2 separate regions of the Homo sapiens genome follow, and region 1 is linked to region 2. The links are contacts of gene promoters, found by promoter capture Hi-C in blood cells and fetal thymus (Javierre and others, 2016). All regions are on one chromosome and are shown on one strand. The core of a region is centred on a gene start or on the middle of the fragment in contact, and the rest is flanking DNA. Distances in the headings are between cores, read along the strand shown. Region 1 has its middle 3.8 kb from the start of TYW2. Region 2 holds the start of KLHL38 (kelch like family member 38).

Region 1 (3,476 bases), core at 848-3,347, 790 kb before region 2:
AGTATTTTCATAAATGTTTGCTGAAATCAATAGTTACACAGAGAATAACACTACTAATACTCTGTCACAAGTGGATCACAAGCTGTTGTACTAAAGCACATGAGACCATTATTCTTAGCTAGCTACATAATTTTTGGTGTGGGGTCCTCCTCTCGCCTTCTGAGAACACCCTACTCTGTAATAGAGTAGTCTTTAATAAACTTGCTTCTTTCACTGTGCTCTGTGACTGGCCCTAAATTCTTTCCTGTCTGAGATCCAAGAACCTGTTTTTTGGGTCTGGAACAAAATTCCTTTTAAGTAACATTTCCTGTGGCAACTCCCAAGGACTTTATTGAGGTGAGACCTTCAACCCAAAAGAAATAGACTGCGCAGGACCAACTGACTGACTTTGGGTAAGAAGGGGAATACATTTTTATACCGATGAAGGACAAGGACACTTATCTAAGATTGGGTTTGAGGCCTACTTGGGAGGATTAAAGGCCCCTCACAGCTGAAAATGGGTTTAGCACAATGGGATGTTAACCATTATTCACTGTGGATTCGTCCTCCTTGTGCTCTCTGTAAGAGCTTTCCAAAGGCTGCCACTTGCCAGTTTCCTGATTGCTTTCTATGCTTTACTGCTACTTTATGAGAGAGATCTTGTTGAACTGGTCCTGAGGTTTTTAACTTTCCTTTTTCTTGTTTGCCTTTGGGTTATGGGCCATTTGCCTGTTGTTCTGGCATGTTGCTAGAAGACATTGGGGACAAATGGCTCTGTAATATTTACTTTCCCTAGATCTAGACCACTTAAATGAATTGTTTATTGTCTCTCCTTTTTTGCAAAGCTTACTTGGAATTTCGCATTTACAAGTTTTAAATGAAAAGGTCCAATGTGAAAGATTAAGCCTGGCAGCAATTATACCAGTCCCCCCTAGGTGAACTGCTCCAGGATGGAAAACTGGAGATTGCTTTTCAGCAGTTCTTTTTCATCTCCTTGCTAATGGAATGACTTTTACTTTTTGGTTACAAATGGCAAGGCCATGTAAATCTTGTCCTGCTTGCCGCTACTGGCCTGAACTTGGACATTCCTTTCTAGAACTTTGTCATTTCCCTTCTCTAGTGAAACATTTCTTTTGCTGAGTCCCCTATTGTGGTCTTTACTTTTGATTACCTAATAATCTTTTGGTTTCTGTGTTAACTTGGACAATTCTTCCCCGTGGGTTTAGGGACAGGCTTTACTTTCTTCCTTTATGTGGCTGAGAAACAAGGGACAGCCCTAAATGTTCTTGTCTAGAAACAGGGATACATCCCTTGACCCATGGCATATTTTTCTAACCAATTGACCATGTGGCTTCAGGATGACTCAGATGTTTCAGGGCAGTTGCAACAACTGCTCTTCTCATAGATGAAGACAATAAATTAACTTTGGGACAACATCTGGAGGTTTTGACCCCACACCAAATAACAGAGGCCCTAGAAGCTAAAGGGCACCAATAGATGAGTAGGGGATAGTTATTAAATTATCAGGCTTTATTGCTAGATACTCTTGATATAACTCTTAAAGTATAACAGAAGACCTTAATCCTAGCTACGTATCTACTTGGATCCAAAGGCACCCTAGATCATTCATGTACACAAGCTATGGAACAAATTTATTCCAGCTGGCAGGATTTAAAAGACGGGCCACTAGGGCTGGGTGTGGTGGCTCACACCTGTAATCCCAGTACTTTGGGAGGCTGAGGCAGGCGGATTACTTGAGGTCAGGAGTTCCAGAACAGCCTGGCCAACATGGTGAAACCCCATTTGTACTAAAAATACAAAAATTACCTGGGCGTGGTGGTGCACACCTGTAGTCCCAATTACTCAGGAGGCTGAGGGAGGAGAATCACTTGAACCCAGGAGGCAGAGCTTGCAGTAAGCCAAGGTCATGCCACTGCACTCCAGGCTAGAGACAGAGCGAGACTCTGTCTCAAAAAAGGATAATAATTTTAAAAAAGAATTAACATGTACACAAACTCCAAGTATGGCTTTCTGGTGCTTCATGCTCATGCTGCTATTTGGAAATAATGGGGACTCTTTAACTTCTAAGGGCTCCCCTATAGAACATTATTTGGGAATTTTAAATCTACTAGATGCTTCCTTGCTGCCTAAGGAAGTTGCTGTGATTCACTGCAAGGGACATCAAAAAGAAAACTCCAAAATATGCCAGGCACTGTGGCTCACACCTGTAATCCCAGCACTTTGAGGGGCTAAGGCGGGCGGATCATGAGGTCAGGAGTTCGAGACCAGGCTTGCCAACAGGGTGAAACCCCATCTCTACTAAAAATACAAAAATTAGTTGGGCGTGGTGGCTCGTGCCTGTAATCCCAGCTACCTGGGAGGCTAAGGCAGGAGAATTGCTTGAACCTGGGCAGCAGAGGTTGCAGTGAGCCTGAGATCGTGCCATTGCACTCCAGCCTGGGCAACTTGAGCAAGGCTCTGACTCAAAAAAAAAAAAAAAAAGAAAAAAAAGAAAAGAAAAGAAAGAAAGAAAACTCCAAAATAATAAAAGGGCATTCTTTTGCAGATGCTACAGCTGAGGCAGCTTCATTTGAGGGAACCAGTTAATCTGGTAGGCATGTTGGTGCCCACTGCCTTGGTGACGATAAAACTAGAGCATGGTTAATACTAGAAAAGAACAAAAATGGGCTAAGACCCATGGGTTAACTATAAGCACTTCCAGATGGCTAATTGATGAAAATGACAGATGATATGTACCAAGAGCTGATCAATGGAAAATAGTTAAGTATTGGCATGGCTCTACTCATTTGGGAAGAGATTTCTCATTTCAATTAATATGGCTCATCTGTTTATAGGGAAAGACTTTCTTTTTTTTTTTGAGACGGAGTCTCGCTCTGTCACCCAGGCTGGAGTGCAGTGGTGTGATCTCAGCTCACTGCAACCTCTGCCTCCTGGGTTCAAGCAATTCTCTGCCTCAGCCTCCCGAGTAGCTGGGATTGCAGGCATCTGCCACCATGCCCAGCTAATTTTTGTATTTTTAGTAAAGACAGGGTTTCACCATGTTGGCCAGGCTGGTCTTGAACTCCTGACCTCGTGATCCACCCACCTCAGCCTCCCAAAGTGCTGGGATTACAGGCGTGAGCCACCGTGCCTGGCCGAAAAGACTTTCTTAGAACAGTAAAACAAGTGACTTGGGCCTGTGAATTGTGTGCCCAAAAAAACCTCAAACAACCAAACTTTACCTCCTCCATTAGTAAAGCCTGTTCAGCATAGGGGGTCGTACCCAGAAGAAGATTGGCAAACACACTATACCCAAATGCCCCCATGTAAAGGATTCCAATATTTATCAGTGTTGGTTGATACCTTTCTTTACATGTTGGATTGAAGCTTTTCCTATCTGGCCTGAAAAGTCAATCAAGGTTTCTAAATTTTCATTCAAGGATATGATTCCCAGATTCAGGTTGCCTAAAAGCTTGTAGAGTGATAATGGCCCATCT
Region 2 (3,515 bases), core at 513-3,012:
AGAAGTGATACATAAACCAAGTTTTGGAAGACGAACAGAAACAGTGAAAATGATAGAGTGAGCAGAGGGGAAGAGCTCATAGAAAGGGATAGAGTACGAATCAGAGGATCCCTGGGCTCTTTCAGGAATGTGGCTACTCACTTATTATGTCACCAGCACAGCTCACCAACTCGGACATATGGAGGAACAGCTCCTCTCACCTGCTCCCTGCTTGTGCCTCCATGGGTCTCTGACCCCCTTAGCTTAGGCCTCCTGCTCCTAATTCTGGCCTCCAGGCCCATGGCCCCAGTAACATGTTTTGGATCCATTTCCCTGGCCTTGACCTTCTGGACTCTTTTGGGCATAATCCACTCTACGATCGGCAACTGTGAATGAGAAACCCTCTTCCTTCCACCCTGCCCTGTGGTGTCCCAAAGGCCAGGCCAGCCCAGCTTCCCCAACAGTGACCAGATGCATACAAGGATCTGTAAGTGTCTCATGGAGCTAGATTACCACACATGAGTGGCAGTAGACATGGTTCCAGAAGCAGACAGGACACCAGTCCGATTCTGGCTAAGGAGTCCTGCAGACATGGGGAGCCACTGAAGGGCCTGATGCTGGGGACTGGCAAATTCTGAGTTGCCTTCCCAGGGGCTGCTCCAGAGAAGACAGGGTGGATGTATTGGAGAGAGAAGTACTAGGAGCAAAGAAAAAAAAATGCATGGAAGACCATTGCACTAGTTGAGCAAGACGTTGAGTAGGAGACAAAGTCAGGCTTCCCTGCCTTTTGTGGCTAAGACAATCATGGACCTCCCTGAAGGCAGGGGCAGAACAGACCTGAGGTCCCCCTCACTCTCTCTCGTGATTCTGATTGTTATTGAAAGCTGCCTCCTACCACATCACTATCATCATTCCTCCCCCGATTCTCTACCTCCTGCTTCTTTTCCTCCTCCTCCTATTCCTCCTCCTCTTCTTCCTCCTCTCGTCTCTCTCCCTCCCTCTGTCCCTGCTTCTTCTTCCTCCTCATCCTCCTTCATCTTCTTTCTCTCTCTCCCTAAAGCAATATGCCTTGCCTCCTGCCTCTAGCTCAAGCTGCCAGACAAGACAAAATGGAAAAGTAAGACAGAAAAGGAAGTCTGAACTATAAAAAGCCAGCTGAAGAGCAATCAGCACGTGTCTGGGAGAGGCAGACGCGACAGGAGGAGCTCGGCCTTACCACTGTCAATCAGAGGTTCCTGAGTAAGGAGACCTGACAAAGGTTTGGGCCTTCAGGAGTCTGGAAACCCTGGGATGCTCAACAACAACAACAACAAAAAACAACAACTTTTGTCATGGATTTCATCACCTAGGATCCTGGAGGAGGAAATCACAGCTCTCCCCAGCGATCCCGCCAGGCAGATGGTGGGAAATAGAGATCCATTGAATAGCACCCACAGGCTCATGTTCCGGCTTCCCTTGTGACCACCTGCCACCTCCACTGTGGCCCAGAACCATCTTCAGTGACTCTCCACAGGTCACAGCAACCTGTTTACAGACGGCTAGAATTCCCAAGCACTTTTAGGACAGGGGACTCGGGATGGTTCCAAGCAGACAGCAAAGTCTTCTCTAAGAGAAGCCGCTCCTCCCGATCTATTTTTGCCGATGTAAACACTTGCCAAGGAAACGAGGCATGTGGGCATGCGCCGGCCCTGCAGGCCCTCGGGTTGCTGCAAAAGGCAACTGGAAAGTCACATGTCATAACAGTGGAAAGTACATATGCAACTATTCTTAGCCCTGGAATGTATACACTGTCTCCCTGCCCAGCAGTCCTTGCACAAAGCTCTAGAAAACTATGAAAGTGCCTTCAGCATAAACAAATCCAGAAATCTCCCAGGACAAATCATTTGCCAACTGAAAGAAAGGCCTGGGGTTTATGGTTTCCCTTGGAGCTAGAGGTAGAAACTCTCCGGGGGGATAAGTCAGACCAGGCACCAGTGGATGTCACCGCAGCAAAACAAGGTAAGTGTCCCTCATACTTATTTCTTCTGCAAGTAGAAAACCAGGTGTCATCCAATAAACCAGGGGATTGTTTGGTCTTTCCTTTTATTTATTCTATCTTTAAAACAAGACTCAATGAAGTCATATTTAAATATATGCATCAAAGGTCCATTTTCTTCCCTCATTTCTGTCCAGTGACCAGAGGGCCACACCTCCAGAATATCATCCTTGGGGAATGATTGACACCCAGAAAGAGAGGTTTAGACATCTGTTACTCAATAACAGATATGCCATCGATCTGGAAAAAGGCTCATGAACTTCTGCTGGTCAAATCCATGGACTGTTATCTTGCTTCAGACTAACATTTCAGCTTCTGATAACAGAGTAACTTCCAACAACTTTAGTTTGTTTGTTTGGTTGTTTCTCTCAGATTAGCTGAAGATACTATTTGCCTATTACTTTTGAAAATAACCATAACCCAAAAGGGCTCAGGTCTGAGATGTATGTGGCCTTCCTTTCCAATCTTCCCTACACAATATCCATGGTGACATCCGCAAACATCATGGGGAATGGAATAGGAGCACTGGTCTTGGAGTCCCCACAGCTGAACCCTCCAGCACATGCAGCTGAGAAAGGTTTGACTCTTGCTGACTCTGGGGGCTTCCTTCCCTCTTTGTAGGATGGACGAGGAGTCACTAGATGGGCTGCTCTTCAAAGACCACGACTTCTCTTCTGACTTGTTGAGGCAGCTCAACAGCTTAAGGCAAAGCAGGATCCTGACTGATGTGAGCATCTGTGCCGGTGCCCGGGAGATCCCCTGCCACCGCAACGTGCTGGCCTCCAGCAGCCCCTACTTCAGGGCTATGTTCTGCAGCAGCTTCCGGGAGAAGAGTGAAGCCAAAGTGCAGCTGAAAGGCATTGACCCCCCAACCCTGGACCAGATCGTCTCCTACGTGTATACGGGGGAGGCACATATTGCCACTGACAATGTCCTCCCCGTGATGGAGGCCGCCTCCATGCTACAGTTCCCCAAGCTGTTTGAGGCCTGCTCCTCGTACTTGCAGAGCCAGTTGGCCCCCAGCAACTGCCTGGGTATGATCAGACTCTCAGAAATCTTAAGCTGCGAGACCCTCAAGAAGAAAGCCAGGGAGGTGGCACTGACGTCCTTCCCAGAGGTGGCCGCATCGGCCGACCTGAAGGAGCTCTGTGCCTTGGAGTTGAGGGACTATCTCGGAGATGATGGGCTCTGTGGGGAGGAGGAAAAGGTGTTTGAGGCCCTCATGGTTTGGATCAAGCATGACCTCCAGGCCCGGAAGCGATACATGCAGGAACTGTTCAAGCAGGTCAGGCTGCAGTACATCCACCCAGCCTTCTTTCACCACTTCATCGCCAACGATGCCCTCCTGCAGTCCTCGCCTGCATGCCAGATCATCTTGGAGACCGCCAAGAGACAGATGTTCTCTTTGTGTGGCACCACCGTCCCAGACTGCAAACTCCTGTTGCATGTCCCTCCAAGAAACTCTTACCAAGATTTCCTCATCCTCTTGGGCGGAAGGAAG

What was found. The method cuts DNA at HindIII sites, captures the fragments that hold promoters and counts their contacts. A CHiCAGO score of 5 or more calls a contact.
Region 1: a contact is called between a fragment that was not itself captured here and the fragment with the promoter of KLHL38 in region 2, in 1 of 17 cell types (endothelial precursors). The highest score is 5.3, in endothelial precursors.

What each region holds. Positions count from the first base shown.
Region 1 is chr8:124,445,238-124,448,713 of GRCh38, reverse strand. No RefSeq gene overlaps it. Among named protein-coding and RNA genes, the nearest start is that of TYW2, 3.8 kb to the left of the region's middle. The HindIII fragment of the contact is 2,542 bases long and covers 827-3,368 here.
Region 2 is chr8:123,652,048-123,655,562 of GRCh38, reverse strand. KLHL38 (kelch like family member 38) reads left to right here and starts at 1,762. Exons shown (of 4, transcript NM_001081675.3): 1 at 1,762-1,977; 2 at 2,636-3,515. The coding sequence starts at 2,637. The HindIII fragment of the contact is 6,101 bases long and covers 1-3,515 here.